Linked DNA regions of Homo sapiens: all the other regions are linked to region 1. Evidence: promoter capture Hi-C in 16 types of primary human blood cells and fetal thymus (Javierre and others, 2016). All regions are on one chromosome and are shown on one strand. Each heading gives the region's core, a stretch centred on a gene start or on the middle of the fragment in contact. The rest is flanking DNA. Distances are from core to core; before and after follow the strand shown. Region 1 holds the start of PLXND1 (plexin D1). Region 2 has its middle 18 kb from the start of TRH. Region 3 has its middle 23 kb from the start of TRH. Region 4 overlaps TMCC1 (transmembrane and coiled-coil domain family 1). Region 5 overlaps TMCC1 (transmembrane and coiled-coil domain family 1). Region 6 holds the start of TRH (thyrotropin releasing hormone).

Region 1 (2,700 bases), core at 133-2,632:
CCGCCGCCGCCGCCGCCGCCACCGCCCGGGTGTACCTGGATGTTGAGCTTGCGCTCACAGGCCGGTCCCGTGCCCTGCACCACGCTGTCGAGCACCGCCACCACGTCGGGCGCCGGTTCCACGAAGCAGGCGGTGCGCGCAGCTCGGATGGCGGCTCGCACGTCGGCGAAGCGGAAGGCGCAGAGTGCGGCCGGAGCAGCGCGGGCCGCGGGGGACCCCTGGGGCCGCTCGAAGACAGCAAAGAGCCGCTCCCGGGCTGGGAAGACCGACACCAGGCGGCTGTAGAGGTCGCCGCGGCCCGCGCCGCCCGCGCACTGCAAGCCCAACTGGATGTAGGACTCGGTGAGCTTCTTGGCGTCGCCGCCGGCGCCGTGGGGCAGGCAGATGCGCGCCAGCAGGCTCCGCGCCTGGCTCTCCTTGTCGCCCGCGCGCGCCTCGCTGTTGAGCGCCAGGTACGCGTAGGACTGTGCACCCGGCGGCGGGTCGGACGGGTGCAGGAAGGCGCTCACGAAGCCCAGCTTGTGCTGCTCCTTGGCGCCCTGCTTGATCTTGAGGATGTTGTCGTCGGAGGGGTTGAGGTCGAAGGTGAAGAGCTTGGCCAGGTCGCCGCGCGTGTCCAGGGAGCGGATGGCGATCTCGGGCGTGTTCTCGAAGCGGTGGTCCTCCAGGCTGCGGTTGCGCGGGAAGAAGGAGCTGCCGTAACCGGTGTACGTGGCGCCCACGAGCAGGCGGCTGCCCCCCGCGCCCGCGGCGGGAGGCAGAACTAGCCCCACGGTGGACGCGTTCGGGTGGTTGGCCGCCACGTTCAGCATGCTGGGGAACACCGTGACGGGCTCGGCGGGCGGCGCGGCGGGCGGGAAGCGCACGGCCACGGCCGAGATGTTGCCCCGGCGCCGCAGCTGGCAGAAGCCCTGGTAGATGGACCCGCACACGACTACCAGGCCCTGGCCGGGGTCCAGCTGCAGGATCTTGTTGTAGTTGTCCGTGAGGCGCCGCGGGTGCTCGCACGAGGCCTGCGGCAGCTGCGGAGCGTGACACAGCGGGCTGTCGGGCACCGGGCCCACGGCCGCCTCGGCCTCCAGGCTCAGGTTGGCGCCCGACAGCTGATAGAGGCGGTTGACGGCCGCCAGGTACACGGTCCCCGCCGCGCCGTCCAGGGCGAAGTTGTTGGTGGGCGTGGGCGAGGGGAACCGACGCTGGATCTCCAGGGCGCCGGCCCGCGCCGCCCCCAGGAGCAGCAGCAACAGCAGCGGCACCGGGCACCGCGGCGGCGTCTGGAACGGCGGGGGGCTGGCGGCGGCGGCCCGGGCGCTAAGGGGTGCGCCGCCCGCGGCGCGAGGAGCCATCCGGGCGTGCGCGGGCTGCGCGGCGCGGCGAGTGCATGGGGCGAGGCGCGGCCGGGAGCCGGGAGCCCGGAGGCGGCGGGAGGCGGGGGGCGGGCCCGGGCCGCGATGCGCTTCCTGCCCGCGCCAGCCGCCCCCGACCCCGGCGCCCGGGCCCGGGTCAGCCTCGCCGCGCAGCCCGGGGGCGGGGCGGGGGCGGCTCCGCTGCGGACACGCCCTCACTCCCCGCCCCGGCCCCGCCCGCCCCCGGGACCCCCGCCTGCCCCTGGCCGCCCTGGGCCACGCCCCGCCGTCCGCGGGTCCCGCCGCCCGCGCCCTCCAGGACCCGCCCGCGGCCCCAGGGTCCCTCCCCGTAGCCGCCGCCGCCGTCGCTCGCTCTCCTCGCTCTTTCCTCCCACTTGGCCGCTTGGCCTGCCTCGCTCGCGCCTGTTTTCTCTTTTCCGCCCTCTCCCCCACCCCGTCTCTCCCTCTCTCTGCGTCTCTCGGTCTCTGCGTCTCTCCGTCTCTGTCCCCACCCCAAACTCCGCGCGTGTGGCGCTTCTCCGGGTTCTGCCTCTGCTTCTCCTTCTCCCTCCGACTCCGCTTCGCTCTCCAGTCCCTGGCAGCCCCGCCCCCGGCCCTTTCTAGTCTCCTTCTCTCTCCTGCTCCGTTTTTCCGTCCCTGACGCTCGCTCCCTCTCTCCGTGGCTCCCTCTGCCTCCCCCTCGGACCCTCCGTCCCTCTCTCGGTCCCTCTGAGCTCCCCTTTCCTTCTCCCTCTGCCTTCCCGAACCCTGTGTCTCCCCTCCACACTCAGCCTCCCTCCACCACCTTTCTCAGGCACTGTCCAGGCCTTCGCTCCCCCGGTGCCGGCCAGTCGGGCCCCCCAGACCCCATAATCTGTCCCCCAAACCCCAGACCCATAAAAGGGATTTACAAGTGGCAGGGCCAGAGGGACCAGTGCTCAGGGTCAGATATATAAATGAGGAAAACATGGAGAGAGGAAATAGTTCCAGCCAGTGGCCCACAACCGATAGCCAGAGCAAGGCCTTGGTCCTGGAGCCCACAGTTGCCTCCTGTGGAGACCCAGCCGCACCCCCACCCCTGGCACCCCCGCCAGGCACTTTCCCTGACATCCTCCCAGGCTTAGTGGAAGATTAGTCCCACAAAAGCCGGCACTGGGCAGGGTTCTTGATCTCAAAAGCAGCGTTAGGGGCAGGCAGCCTGGTTCCAAGGTCACAGCCCTGTGAGGACCATGCGCCGTGGCTGTTTTGCGGGGGTGCTCACACAGGGCTAGCCCGTGCCAGACACTGTGCCAAGCACTTGCCATGTACGGGCTCTCTTTTTCCTCACAGATTCCCCCGAGGCGAGCGCTATTGG
Region 2 (2,700 bases), core at 117-2,616, 350 kb after region 1:
TGCCACCCCCCGCCATCTCTACTTCAGGGTCACGCTGATGCCTGGACACTTGCATGCTGCTCCTGGGGACACACATACTCCCTCTCCCTCCTCCCTTGCTGCTGAAACAAGTCAGGAGCCAGGCGATCAATGGCCGGCCTTGCCTGGGCGAGCTCTCTGCTCATTACAAGTGCCTGCCACCTCCGCGTCCCTCCTATCCAAGGACAGCTTGGTGGGGACCTAATTCAGAGAAGGAATGAAACAGCCAGGAGTCTGCTTCTCTCACCCCCTTCCTGTCCATGCCCCCATCTGCCCAGAGCCAGAGACCTTACTGCTCATACTGTTCTCAGGAGATAGTTAAGGTCTCCTGCCTGGAGACCTCAACATTCCCCTCTAGGGCATCTTGACGGTTCTGCCCAGTCATATCCTCAGCTGGTCACTTAGCCTAAACATCTACCATTAGTCCAGATGGCAACCACCTGTCTATTAGGTACTAATTGTGTGGCAGGTGGCTTACATCTCAATCAACCTCACCCAATCTCTGTGGTAGGAACTACAATGAGGTCAACTTGATAGAGAAGAAACTGAGGAGCAAATAAGTCACTTCTCCTGGAGAATAGTTGGGCTAGAGTCAGGCTGGCCTTATTCCCAGGGCTCTCTGCACTCGGAGGCTATCAAAATAGTCTCCAAATTCAAGCACCCTTTTGTCTGGTGCTCAACAGAAGAAATCCTGGGGTTTTGATGAAGAGATAGGCAAATAGAACTATTAATTTATTCTTTCATTCATTCTTTACTTCAGCATCTATTAAGTGGTAGGCTCTGTTCTAGATGAAGGGATAGAGCAGTCACCAAAAGAAATTCCCTGCTCCCAGAGTTTCCAATCTAGTGGCCCAGAGAGGTGACATCACTTGCCTCAGGTCAAACAGCCAGAAAGTAGCCATAACCAGAGGCAGAAGGGGTGATCATAGGGAGAGGTCTGATCTGACTCCCTAGGATCAGGCCAGCCAAGGCATGGAGGGCAGGACATACCTTGGCAACAGGCTGGCCAGGGTTCCAATCCCACTACTGCTATGTCCTCATCATGCAACTCTGGGAAAACCACTTTGCTTTTTTGAGCCTGTTTTCTTGTGGGTGGAATGGGGATAGTTAGAACCATGGTTGAAACAGGCCCTGAGAGGATGAAACAGGCCCTGGTAAATGTTGGGGACTGGCCTTCCCTTTCTCCTTCCAGGGAGGGTTGCAGGCTTCTTCCACCTCCTCTGTGAGCAACCTTGGCCTCAGTCAACCCTCATGAATGTGGAAGAGATCTGAGTGTACTGTGGCCTGATCAGCCACCTCTGCTTCCTGTATCTCATCAGCTTGCTCCTAGGGTCCTTGGGCATGGAGTGGCAAAGTTCTACAGCACATAAAGCACAAATTATTTAAAAAATATTAAAGAGATAATTGTGGTGTGTGGAGAATAGATTGGAGGTGGGGGGCATATCTGTCAGCTATTTCACAATAATGCCACATAACAAGCCACCCCAAAACCCAGTGGTTTCAAACAATGATCATCTCATCTCATAGGCCTGCAGACAAGTTGGAGTGGCTCTGCTCCAACTGTATCTGATTCTCCTCCCAGCAGCAGCGGGTGAGCCAAGGCATGTTCCAGTGGCCATGGCAGAAGCACAAGAGGGCGAGTGAAAATGCTCTTAAATCCCAGGTGGGGGCCCACTTATGCTCCATCCTGTTGACCAGTGCCATTCAATAGCCAAGGCCAAGGTTAAGGGAGACGGAAATCTATCCATCCCATTGGCAGAGGTGTGGCTGCAGGAAGAGGTGAAGAATTGGGACTAATTTTCAATATACCACAGGAGGAGGTGAGGAAGAAGTATGTCTACTTAAGAGGCCCCCATAGACATCCAGGTGAGTGAGGATGGACCAGACTGGCAGCAGTGGCAGTGATGAGAAATATCTGTTGACTGAATGAATGCTCAGACCCTTAATTCCACCTTGACCCTTAATTCCACTCCTAGGAATTCATGCTAATAACATAAACTAAACTGTGAAGATGTTCATTACAGCATTGCTTATAATAATAAAATATGGATACAACTTAAATGTGCATGAAATGTAACTCCTAAATTCTAGCATCTTAGAAAATGTAATAGAAAGAGACTGCTTTGGACTGGCGTGGTGGCTTACACCGGTAATCCCAGCACTTTGGGAGGCTGAGGCAGGAGGATCACTTGAGGACAGGAGTTTGAGACCAGCCTGGGCAACACAGCAAGACCTGTCTCTGCAAAAAATAAAAAAATTAGCCAAGTGTGGTGATGTGTACCTGTAGTCCCAGCTACTCGGGAGGCTGAAGCAAGAAGATCACTTGAGCCCAGGAGTTTGAGGTTATAGTGAGCTATAATTGTACCACTGCACTCTAGCCTGGGTGACAGAGTGAGACCCTATCTGAAAAGAAAGAGAGAGAAGAAAGAAATAAAAAGAGAAAGAAAGAATGAAAGAAAGAAAGAAGAAAGAAAGAAAGAGGGAGAGGAGACTGGACTGTGGAGTCAGATAGACCTGAGTTTGAATCCCAGCTCTATTGCTTTTGAGACGTGTGACCCTGAGAAAATCACCTCACCTCTCTGAGCCTCAGGTGTGGAGGAAGGAAAAGTCACGACTTTGTAGAGGAGGACAGAAAAAGTTCACTGGCATTAGAACAGGCTTCCTAGACAAGTGGGAGTCAAG
Region 3 (2,840 bases), core at 152-2,651, 390 kb after region 1:
AGCCCAGATATGAGCCCAGGATGATCACAGGCCGAGAAAGGGAGCAGGGAAGCCATGGGAAGGGTGGTACCATGAGGCCATCACTCCACAATCACCCTCGTGGCTGCTCTGGAGGTACACCCACCTTACACAGAACACCTCCAGGAGGACTGCAAGGAGAAATCCAGTCTCAGATAGTCCAGAGAAAGATGGAAGGAGAGGGGGTTTATCTACCTGGATCCCTCCTGTCTCCTGGGTCTCATTAGTCAACCTTGGTTCTGTGGCCAATGAACGATAAATTCTTTTGTACTTCTGGCATCATTTGGTCATTTTGGGGGCTCTGAGGTCTTTCCATCCCACACCCTGTGGGGTGTGTTTCAAATACGGATGTAAGTCTTATTATTACTCAAGTACAGTGAGACCAACAGCTCAGGAGACGACTGCCACAGAAAAGAGTTTGTTACTCACAGGTCCCAAGAGGAGGGGGCATGCCATGCCAGGAAGAGCCACAAGGAGAGGCATGAGGGTCAATCAGGAGGCAGAGGGTGTGAGGGGCAAATGGGGCAAGATCCTTTACTTTAGTTTCCAGGTGAGGCAGGGTAAACAGGCTTAGGATTGGCTAGATTGAATAATTTCAGCAGGCTTTGGGGCATAGCGGCTGACCCTAGATGCTTGGTACCTGGCCCTGGAGTGATTAGGGCAGGAGAATAGTGGCCTGGAGTGAAAGAGCCCAGAGATAAAGGGGGTGGTGCGGGTGGGGGCTGTGCATTGATTAGTTTGCATGTTAAATGCACACTTACAGGCCAGTCCTTTACTATCTCTTGGCCATCCCTGGGAGGAGCAATCCCTCCAGGGTTACCAAGACCCCAGATGTCAAAGCATCAGAAACATAGAAGATAGAAAGGTATCATTAATACAGGGAAGAACCAGAAACTCTGGGCATGAGCTGGTGGATCTAGCTGCACTGTGGTGGCCAAGGGGGAGGGTCCTGCACACCCAGCAGGGACAATGTCCTCTGCCTATTGCGACTTCTTTGACCCAGCTCCTCCTACTCTCCCCTCATTCACACCATCCTCCTTAGCCTCCTTGCTGTTTCTGGAACATGCCAGGCAACAGGGACCAGGGCTGTAACTTTCCAGATCATTTTCTCTACATTTGTACACAGCCACATGCACATATATTTGCACACTATTGTCTCAAGACTTTTCTGATACCACCGCACATCTTAGAGCTGTCCTCATGTCAGTCGTTAGATATTTCCCTTGTTCTTTTTAATCACTATAATGGTTGACGCATGGGTGCATCAAAAGTCACTTATGCACACCCCTATGGATGGATATTTAGGTTATTTTCAGCACTTCCTGATTATAAACAACGCCATCATAAGCAGTCTTGCTCCTGTCTTTGTATAGACATGCGAGTTTCTGTGGGATAGAACACCTACAAGCAAAATTGCTAGGACAATGGGCATGGGTAGTTAACATTTTCACAAATACTGCCAACTGCTCCATAGAAAGCCGCTCCCAATTTATACACCCACCCATAGTGAGTGAGGTTTCAGAGAACTCATTGCTCCACACCATTTCCAACAACAGCTATTTTCAGTGATTAATCTTTTTGAAATCAATCTATTTTTTCTTTTTCTTTTTCTTTTTAGAGGTGGAGTCTCACTCTGTCACCCAGGCTGGAGTGCAGTGGTGAGATCTCAGCTCACCGTAGCCTCCACCTCCTGGGTTCAAGCGATTCTCCTGCCTCAGCCTCCCGAGTAGCTGGGATTACAGGTGCACCCACCACGCCCGGCTAATTTTTTTTTTTTTGAGACGGAGTTTTGCTCTTGTTGCCCAGGCTGGAGTGTGATGGCGTGATCTTGGCTCACTGCAACCTCCACCTTTTGGGTTCTAATGATTCTCCTGCCTCAGCCTCTTGAGCAGCTGGGATTACAGGCATGCGCCACCATGCCCAGCTAATTTTGTATTTTTAGTAGAGACGAGGTTTCTCCATGTTGGTCAGGCTGGTCTTGAACTCCTGACCTCAGGTGATCCACCCACCTCGGCCTCCCAAAGTGCTGGGATTACAGGCATGAGCCACTGCACCTGGCCTTAATTTTTGTATTTTTAGTAAAGACAGGGTTTCACCATTGTTGGCCAGGCTGGTCACAAACTCCTGACCTCAAGTGATATAGCTTGCCTCAGCCTCCCAAAGTGCTGGGATTACAGGTGTGAGCCACCACGCCTGGCTGAAATGAAATCAACTTCCTTCCTTCCTTCTTCTTTCCTTCCTTCCCTCCCTCCTTTCTCCCTTTCTTTCTTTTCTTTTTCTTTCTTTCTTTCTTTTTCTTCCTTTCTTTCTTTCCTTCTCTTTCCTTTCTTTTTCTTTCTTTCTGACTTTCCTTCCTTCCTTCTTTCTCTTTCTTTCTGACTTTCCTTCCTTCTTTCTCTCTTTTTCTCTCTCTCTTTCTCTCTTTTTCTTTCTCCTTCCTTCTTTTCTTTCTTTCTTTTCCTTCTCTTGCTCTGTTGCCCAGGCTGGAGTGGCTGGCACGATCTTGGCTCAAGCCAATCTCAGGTTCAAGCCATTCTCCTGCCTCAGCCTCCCAAGTAGCTGGGACTACAGGCACGCACCACTATGCCTAACTATGAAATCAGCCTATTTCTGGTAGCCACTCTATTTGATTCCAAAAATGGCTTGAAGCAGTTTTTACTCAAAAAAAATACCTGAAGTTCCTCTTTTGCAAGGATCTGCCAACATAGGCCATGTCTGCCCTCAAACCATGAAGAAGGCATCCTGGTCATCACCAAGAAGTACTACATTCACCTGGGCAGCAACTTCCACACACACACACAAGCATGAGTGCAAGGAGATCA
Region 4 (2,721 bases), core at 95-2,594, 260 kb after region 1:
TATGAGTTAAAAAAAAAAAAACACTTCTTCATTTCCTTTGTTTCAATTCTACCTCTCAAAGTCCACTCTTCATATCTTAAAATGACCTTACTCAAAACTAAGCTTGTCTCCAAAAGGTCAGCAAATGGGTAGGGCGGGCTAGTCTCACAAACACAGAAACACAAATGTACGATTCAAGTATCTCCATGCTTTCATCCATGTTATTTTTCATACTTGCAATGATAGCCTTCTTCTTCAACATTACAAATAGAGAACACAGATCAAATCCTCCTGTAATCGCTTCAACAGTCACCTATTCTCTTCCTTCTTTATATTTCCATAATACAAACCATATGGCCTTCAATAGCTAGTTTTCCTGTTTTCCTCTTTCCACACTGGCTTCTTGAAGTGCCATATCAAATCTAAATTCCTTAACAATACCATTAGTATTCAATAAATGCTAATTCAGTGATAGGTTTAAATCTGTCTCTAAATTAAAAAATTATCTAGTCCTAACCTGGTGTGGGTAGAAAATCTAATGTAACTCTACCAGAGTAAAGAAAGAACATATAGCCAAGCAAATAACTGAAGCCACAGAAGGTGGCTTATTTCACAACACTTCCCAGTTCATCCTATCTGGTGACTGCATTGGCTTATTTTCAAGAAACTGACTTTAAGGCCATAGTAGAAATAAGTTTTTAAAAAATAAGACCAGAATAAACTGAGTCACTGAGTCAGAGCTACAAGACAAGTGATTCTAAAGATGACGACAGATGAAGACTCTAGGTCACACAGATAGTTTGTGGCATACAAACGCTAGAACAGAGGCTTCTAACTTCTAGAAGAGTAACATATTTATTGTGTGCCTAATACGTGCCAAGAACTCTGCTAGGCACTACGTTAGACTAGTACCCATTCTTGTACATCAAGATACTTCCCATAGATGTTCTAAAACATTTAAAATATTAATTTAAGGCTCACATTCTAAGGAAATCCCTGTGTTACAAGAAGACAACGCCCACATCTCTAACAAATACATTAAAACAGGCAGGCAGAGGGGGGAAAAACCATACAAGCAGGAAAGAATTTGGAATTCCAAACAATTTACTCTTCCTTTTCTGGCTATGAAAATTCGCATACTATTGTTTACCAATAAAGAGATTAAGACCACCAAAAGGCATTTCTACCCAAATTTCATGACCCAACAGTTTGGAAAAAATGAACATTATTCCTGGCAGAAAAAAATTATCTGTTTTTGTCACATCACATGCAGAGCCATCTGAGAATAAATGTCTAAGCAAAAAAAGAAACAATACTGGAATTTGATAAAGACTCCTCAGGAATATGGCATTTAGCTGTTTCTTTTCTTTTCTTTTTTGAGATAGAGTCTTGCTCTGTTGCCCAGGCTTGAGTGCAGTGGCGCAATCTTGGCTCACTGCAACCTCCACCTCCTGGGTTCAAGTGATTCTCCTGCCTTAGTCTCCCAAGGAGCTGGGATCACAGGTGCACACCATCATGCCCAGCTAATTTTTGTATTTTTAGTAGTGACGGGGTTTCACCATGTTGGCCAGGCTGGTCCTCGGACTCCTGACCTCAAGTGATCCACCCACCTTGGCCTTCCAAAGTGCTAGGATTACAGGCGTGAGCCACTGCGCCCAGCCTAGCTGTTTCAATGGAACCTTTCATCAAAGGATCTCAAAACAAATGTTACTGACATTACCAATAATCAAATTGGTGACCCTATGGCTACAGAAAGAAATATATCAATGACCTAAGGAATTCAATACTGATATTCTGAAACCCAGCCCTCTGTTCTAAAAACAAAATCTAGTTTTATGTATAGTAGTGTGCTATAAGAAACATACATATTTGGTCTTTGTCCTTGATTCCTGGCAGAGCTCCTAAAACCCTTAGGTTTTCCTCAATAACAGAAGCGCTTTTTGTTATTCATAATGTATTCCTTTCAACCACACCTGAGTTTATACTAATTAGGTGACTCTTGGTGGGCCTCTAGATAGCTTCAGGATAGGGCTGGTTGCCAGGGGAACCAACCAAGCGATTAGAGTATTGGAACTTTTAGTCCTCCACTCCTCAACCTTTGGGGAAGAGAGAGGAACTGGGGACTGACTAAATGATGGGGTTTGGAAAGATTCCCAGGTAGTGAATACATGGAGGTGCTGGGAGGGTTTTGTGCCCAGAGAGGACATGAAAGCCTCACACCCCTCCCCCATAGCTTGCCCTATGTATTTATTTCATTTAGCTGTTCCTGAGTTGTACCCTTTATAATAAATTGATAAACATAAGTGTTTTCCTGAGTTCTATGAGTCTTTCCAGTGAATTAACGAACCTGAGGAAGGGGTCACGAGAACCCCTGAATTTGCAGCCAAGCCAGACAGAAGTGTGGGTGGCCCAAGACTTGTGACTAGCATCTCAAGCAGCAGCAGTCTTTTGGGACTGAGCCCTTTAACTTGAGATCTGACACTAACTCCAGGTAGACAGTGTCAGAATTGAATGGAATTGTTGAACACTCAGTGTCATAGAACTGAAGGTGAATTAGGTGTGGTATGGAAAAACCCCCATAGGTAGTAATTCTTGGGATATATTTGTAAAGCTTGATGATACAAATGTATTTGTTGATATAACCTCCCAACTTACCTTGATGCACATGTACAAATAGAAAACCCAAAAATGTAAGCAATGCTGTCAAGAACAGTTGCCACTAAAAATACCTGGCATTAATTT
Region 5 (2,700 bases), core at 194-2,693, 280 kb after region 1:
TAAAAACAAAAGGGCAAGCCGGGTGCAATGGCTCACACCTGTAATCCCAGCACTTTGGGAGGCTGAGGCGGACCAATCACTTGAGGTCAGGAGTTCAAGACCAGCCTGGCCAACATGGTGAAACCGTTTCTACAAAAAAAAAAAAAATTAGCCAGGTGTGGTGTGTGCACCTGTAATCCCAGCTACTCGGGAGGCTGAGGCAGGAGAATCCCTGGAACCCGGGAGGCGGAGGTTGCAGTGAGCCGAGATCACACCACTGCACTCCAGCCTGGGAGACAGAGTGAGACTCCGTCTCAAATAAAATAAAATAAACAAAAAAAACCCCAAAAGGCCAGGTATTATGATTCCATTTATGTGACATGTTTAGAATAGGCAAACCCATAGGACAAAAATCAGACTGTGGTTGCCAGGGAACAAAGAGAGGGACTGCTTAATAGGTATGGGGTTTCTTTTTGGGGTGATGAAAATGTTCTAGAGTTTGGCAGCGGTGGTGGCTGCACATGTTACACTGTGAATGAACTAAAAGCCACTTAACCGTAGATTTAAAATGGTTAACTACATATTTCAAATCATAAATTGTATTTTATAGGAATTTTACCTTAAGAAAAAAAAAAATACTGGGCTAGGTGCACTGGCTCATGCCTGTAATCCCAGCACTTTGGGAGGCCAAGGAGGGCGGATCATGAGGTCAAGAGATCGAGACCACCCTGGCCAACATGGGGGAATCCCGTCTCTATTAAAAATACAAAAATTAGCTGGGCATGGTGGCATGAGCCTGTAGTCCCAGCTACTCAGGAGGCTGAGGCAGAAGAATCACTTGAACCCGGGAGGTGGAGGCTGCAGTGAGCCAAGATCGCGCCACTGCACTCCAACCTGGCGACAGAGCAAGACTCCGTCTCTCAAAAAAAAAAAAAAAACAACAAAAAAGAACTTCTAAATGTTATTTATCTTGTACCTGTATCTCCTCCACTCCTTAACAAAATACTGTGAGCATTAAAAAAAAGACCACTCAAAAACACTTTTTAAAATATAATATATTGACATTCTAAAAAAGGCAAAACTATAGAGACAGTTAAAAGATCAGTGAGGTTGCCAGAGGCTGGTGTGAGGGAAGTAAATCAGTGAGAGACAAACTTTCTAGAGCTGTGGAACTAATCTGTATGATACTGTAATGTTAAACATAAAATACTAGAAGCTGTCAAAACCCATAGAAATTTATATCACAAAGAATAAACTTTAATGTGTGCAAATTCTTAAGTAATTAGGAGATAAAGGTAGCTCAGCAAAAAATGCAGAATGTGACAAAATCTAAATCTATCACAAATACACGAGACGACTTCAGGAAGTAAGTAGGGAAAGCTGCTGACCTAAAAAACATTAGAAATGAGTGCTGTCTATAAAACTAAAGGCAAAAAGAACTATCTGTAAGTCTCTAGTTGATAAACTAGTTTCCCACAGGTATACAGATTAACAGTTCTGAAACCACTATACGTGTATGCTGGAATGGAATAATTAATTCTGGCAGATGGTGGGAGGCAGGTTTTTCACTGATGAAGCAGGAGGTTACATATAAGCAAGGTAAGGTTAGAATGATACATGTGGTAATGAATTAGAGTTGGAGACATCACGAAGTCATGTTTAGCTTAATAAAGACACAGTTACATATAGAAACATATATAGATATGTGTATATACACAGGTTAATATGTACACATATATCTCCTTCCTCCGTCCCTTGAGAGGGCCTAGAAGATACAACACTTCAGTACCAACAAGCACACCTATCACCCAGATCTTGGTTTGTAACACCATTCTTCAATAAAAGGTACCAGGGCTCCTTGAGAAATGACTGATTACAGGACTGGAGCAGAAAATATACAAGATGAACCTTAAGAGCATCTTATGTTGCCAGAAAGGAAGAAAGTACACACACAATGATGGAGATATGTCAAAGAGAAAGGATACAGGAGCCAACTTAAAGAGCTCCCAATGGCCAAAGCTGAAATAATTTAGCAATGAAATTTAAGTAGATACACCACCCTTAAGGAGGTAGAACATAACTCATCACCACTAAGTGTGGGCTGTACATAGTGACAATTTTCCAGAGTACAGTAGGAAAGAGAGGAGGAAAGAGTAACTTTGCAGAAAACAAACTCTGCCTCAAGCCAGATGAGCAGGGTTAACATCAACACTGATAAGTCATACTGGTAGTATACATCCCTAATATGTGATGAGAATGACACTTTAGCCCTGTGGTCTTCCTTCCAAAAGCATATTACATTCTTGGCCTAACCACAATGAAAACATCAGATAAATCCCAAAGAACGTTCTATAAAAATACCTGACCACGGCTGGACACAGTGACTCACGCCTGTAATCCCAGCACTTTAGGAAGCTGAGGAGGGTGGATTGCTTGGTTCTAGGAGTTCGAGACCAGCCTGGGCACCATGGTGAAACCCCATCTCTACAAAAAGTACAAAAATTAGCAGAGCATGATGGCACACATCTCTGGGCCCAGCTACTCCGGACATTGAGGTCAGAGGATCACTTGACCCCAGAGTGTTGAGGCTGCAGTGAGATGAGATCGTTCCACTGCACTCCAGTCTTGGTGACAGAGGGAGATCCTGTCTCAAAAAAACAAACAAACAAAACCTGACCAGTAATGTTCAAAACTGCCAAGGTCACTAAATACAGGGAAAGT
Region 6 (2,700 bases), core at 133-2,632, 370 kb after region 1:
GTCTTTGTCTCGCCCTCTAGCTCTCTCGTGCGCCTGTGTTTAATCGTGCGCTTCTCTCAATCTCTCTGTCCCTCCCTTTGCCCCCTACACGCGTGTTCTCGTCAACAGATCTCCAGAGGTGGTGCAGAAACGACCCCGCGCCGGCGCCCCATCCTGCGGCCAGTGCCTCCGCGCCCCGGCTCCGGTCCCCACCGTCCCCGCCCCAGATTTCCGGAGGAGCAGGCGGGCGGGGTCCCGCGGGGCCGGCTGCCGTCAGCGCCCCTTCCCGGCGGCCGCGACCCCTCCCCGCTGACCTCACTCGAGCCGCCGCCTGGCGCAGATATAAGCGGCGGCCCATCTGAAGAGGGCTCGGCAGGCGCCCGGGGTCCTCAGCGCTGCAGACTCCTGACCTGCCGACTGCGGATCCCGAGTCCCCGGATCCCGGACCCATCCTGTGGAGCCCACTCCTGGCAGGTAACCGCCCCAACCCCTCTCCTTCCGCAGACGGTGTCCGGGAGCACTGGAAAGGGAGCCCTCTCGGCCCGCCCTCACCTTCGGTTCTCTGAGAGCTTCCTGGAGAACAGGGCCGGTGCACAGGCGGGCGCTGTGCTCGCACCCCCGGGTCCTCCCCGAGCGCAGGCCGGGGACCCGACGGGAGGCACGGCGCGGGCACATCGGAGGCTCTCGCTGCTGGGCACTCAGGTCGCCAGAGTCCGCAGCGCGGGGTGGGAGCTCCGCGGCACCCCCTGCCTGGGTGCCGCCGGACAGAGCTGGGTATTCAGGGCGTCGGCCTGAGAACCTGGGAGTTCGAATCCCAATCTCAACGCTAGAAATAGAATTTTAGCGTTGAAGTTAGGATTTTAGCGTTAGAATCAGATTCCTGGCTTAGTCATGAAAGCTTAGCATTAGAAATAGAATCTTAGCTTTGCAAATAGACTTTGAGCTTTAGAACCTGAATCTTAGCGATAGAAATGGGATCTTCGCGTTGGAATGAGGACGTCGGCCACGGAGCTTGGAGTTAGAACGTGGCGATGGGGACCTTTGGGGGAGTCTTGGCGGGGACGCAACCGTTAGCGTCGCGGCTGTGCCTGGCGCTGCAATCTCAATGGTTGCACTCCCGGCGAGGCAGTCCCAGCGTTGGCTTCCCCAGTTCCGCGTCACATTGAAGGGTGGCGGTGGCGCTGGCGATGGGGTTCCTACGGCCTCCTGCCTTGCGCAAGCAGAACTGGGCGCAGGCACTACAGGCACCCGTGGGGGCGAGGACGCCTAGAGGTGACAGGTGTGGACGCAGAGCCGGGGCGAACCCGCCGCTGCTCCCGCCCCTGCACGAGGGGCAGTGGTCCTGCTTCTGGGAGGGCGGTTGAACTGTGCGTGGTTTGTTTCTGGCGGGCGTCGGGGGAGATGGAGCGGGATGTGCTGTGATTCGGTGCGCTCAGGCTCCCTCTGTCCCCTAACCCAGACGCCGCGATGCCCGGCCCTTGGTTGCTGCTCGCTCTGGCTTTGACCCTGAACCTGACCGGTGTCCCCGGCGGCCGTGCTCAGCCAGAGGCGGCCCAGCAGGAGGCAGTGACGGCCGCGGAGCATCCGGGCCTGGATGACTTCCTGCGCCAGGTGGAGCGCCTCCTCTTCCTCCGGGAAAACATCCAGCGGCTGCAAGGGGACCAGGGTGAGCACTCCGGTGAGTGGATGGGGCTGTTGGGGGCTGTGGGGCTAGGCTATTGGGAGAGCCGTGGAAACCTGCCGGCAAAGGGGAGGGGAGGCTTGGTCAGCTAGCCTTCTGCCTTTCGGAAGCTCAGAAACCCTCCCTGGCTGCGCCTAGGCGGGATCTGGAGTTGACCATTCCTCGGGGTCAGATTCCTCCCCTGTCTCAATGCTGGGAATATTTCACAGAGAGCAGGCCCTGGGTGGGGAAGCTTCTGTGTGCTAGGGAGAGAGTTTCTTTGTGTGTGACAGTTTGAATTACTACTGTCTAGGCACTTCTGTGCCAGACACTATTCCAAGCACTTCAAACACCTTATCACACTGTTTGATCTTCCTAACAACCTCTTAGTTAGGTACTGTTATTACGATTTTACACAGAAGAAAACTGAGGCTCCCAGAGATCAATTGAGTCGCTTATGGTCAGACAACTAGGGAGCGCCAGAGCTGGGATTGGAACCCAGAGGCAATGCCTTTGACTATTGTGTGAATGTGTGTATCTGTGAGGCCTGAGGGGCAGGTGCAAGACCATGCCTCTGAGTGGGAGCTGCAGGAAATGTACCCTGCCTGGGAGAAAAGCAGGAGTGGGCACTCAGGCGCCTGCCTATTACATGGGTCAGGGGCCCCTCACTGACCTCTTTCCTTCCCCAGCGTCCCAGATCTTTCAATCTGACTGGCTCTCCAAACGTCAGCATCCAGGCAAAAGAGAGGAGGAGGAGGAAGAGGGAGTTGAAGAAGAGGAAGAGGAAGAAGGGGGGGCTGTGGGACCCCACAAACGGCAGCACCCTGGCCGACGAGAAGATGAGGCTTCATGGTCAGTCGATGTAACCCAGCACAAGCGGCAGCATCCTGGCCGGCGCTCCCCCTGGCTTGCATATGCTGTCCCGAAGCGGCAGCACCCAGGCAGAAGGCTGGCAGATCCCAAGGCTCAAAGGAGCTGGGAAGAAGAGGAGGAGGAGGAAGAGAGAGAGGAAGACCTGATGCCTGAAAAACGCCAGCATCCGGGCAAGAGGGCCCTGGGAG

Evidence for each region. The method cuts DNA at HindIII sites, captures the fragments that hold promoters and counts their contacts. A CHiCAGO score of 5 or more calls a contact.
Region 2: a fragment that was not itself captured here is called in contact with the fragment with the promoter of PLXND1 in region 1 in 2 of 17 cell types (neutrophils and naive CD4 T cells); the score reaches 5.9 in neutrophils.
Region 3: a fragment that was not itself captured here is called in contact with the fragment with the promoter of PLXND1 in region 1 in 8 of 17 cell types (naive CD8 T cells, total B cells, neutrophils and 5 more); the score reaches 6.7 in naive CD8 T cells.
Region 4: a contact is called between a fragment that was not itself captured here and the fragment with the promoter of PLXND1 in region 1, in 2 of 17 cell types (M1 macrophages and M0 macrophages). The highest score is 5.9, in M1 macrophages.
Region 5: a contact is called between a fragment that was not itself captured here and the fragment with the promoter of PLXND1 in region 1, in 8 of 17 cell types (M1 macrophages, M0 macrophages, M2 macrophages and 5 more). The highest score is 8.2, in M1 macrophages.
Region 6: a contact is called between a fragment that was not itself captured here and the fragment with the promoter of PLXND1 in region 1, in 6 of 17 cell types (total CD8 T cells, naive CD4 T cells, naive CD8 T cells and 3 more). The highest score is 5.9, in total CD8 T cells.

Annotation. Positions count from the first base shown.
Region 1 is chr3:129,605,294-129,607,993 of GRCh38, forward strand. It overlaps PLXND1 (plexin D1), which reads right to left and starts at 1,383. Exons shown (of 36, transcript NM_015103.3): 1 at 36-1,383. The coding sequence starts at 1,346. RefSeq lists enhancers at 1-619, 1,612-2,604, 2,605-2,700 and silencers at 1,342-1,401, 1,552-1,711. The HindIII fragment of the contact is 18,333 bases long and covers 1-2,700 here.
Region 2 is chr3:129,955,870-129,958,569 of GRCh38, forward strand. No RefSeq gene overlaps it. Among named protein-coding and RNA genes, the nearest start is that of TRH, 18 kb to the right of the region's middle. The HindIII fragment of the contact is 5,965 bases long and covers 1-2,700 here.
Region 3 is chr3:129,995,809-129,998,648 of GRCh38, forward strand. It overlaps the pseudogene LOC124906284 and the pseudogene RPS17P9. Among named protein-coding and RNA genes, the nearest start is that of TRH, 23 kb to the left of the region's middle. The HindIII fragment of the contact is 3,275 bases long and covers 1-2,840 here.
Region 4 is chr3:129,867,100-129,869,820 of GRCh38, forward strand. All of the region lies in intron 2 of TMCC1 (transmembrane and coiled-coil domain family 1), which reads right to left. Among named protein-coding and RNA genes, the nearest start is that of TMCC1, 25 kb to the right of the region's middle. The HindIII fragment of the contact is 2,488 bases long and covers 101-2,588 here.
Region 5 is chr3:129,886,642-129,889,341 of GRCh38, forward strand. All of the region lies in intron 1 of TMCC1 (transmembrane and coiled-coil domain family 1), which reads right to left. Among named protein-coding and RNA genes, the nearest start is that of TMCC1, 5.7 kb to the right of the region's middle. The HindIII fragment of the contact is 3,283 bases long and covers 1-2,700 here.
Region 6 is chr3:129,974,371-129,977,070 of GRCh38, forward strand. It overlaps TRH (thyrotropin releasing hormone), which reads left to right and starts at 350. Exons shown (of 3, transcript NM_007117.5): 1 at 350-453; 2 at 1,439-1,657; 3 at 2,329-2,700. The coding sequence starts at 1,447. It also overlaps the pseudogene LOC124906284. The HindIII fragment of the contact is 1,015 bases long and covers 876-1,890 here.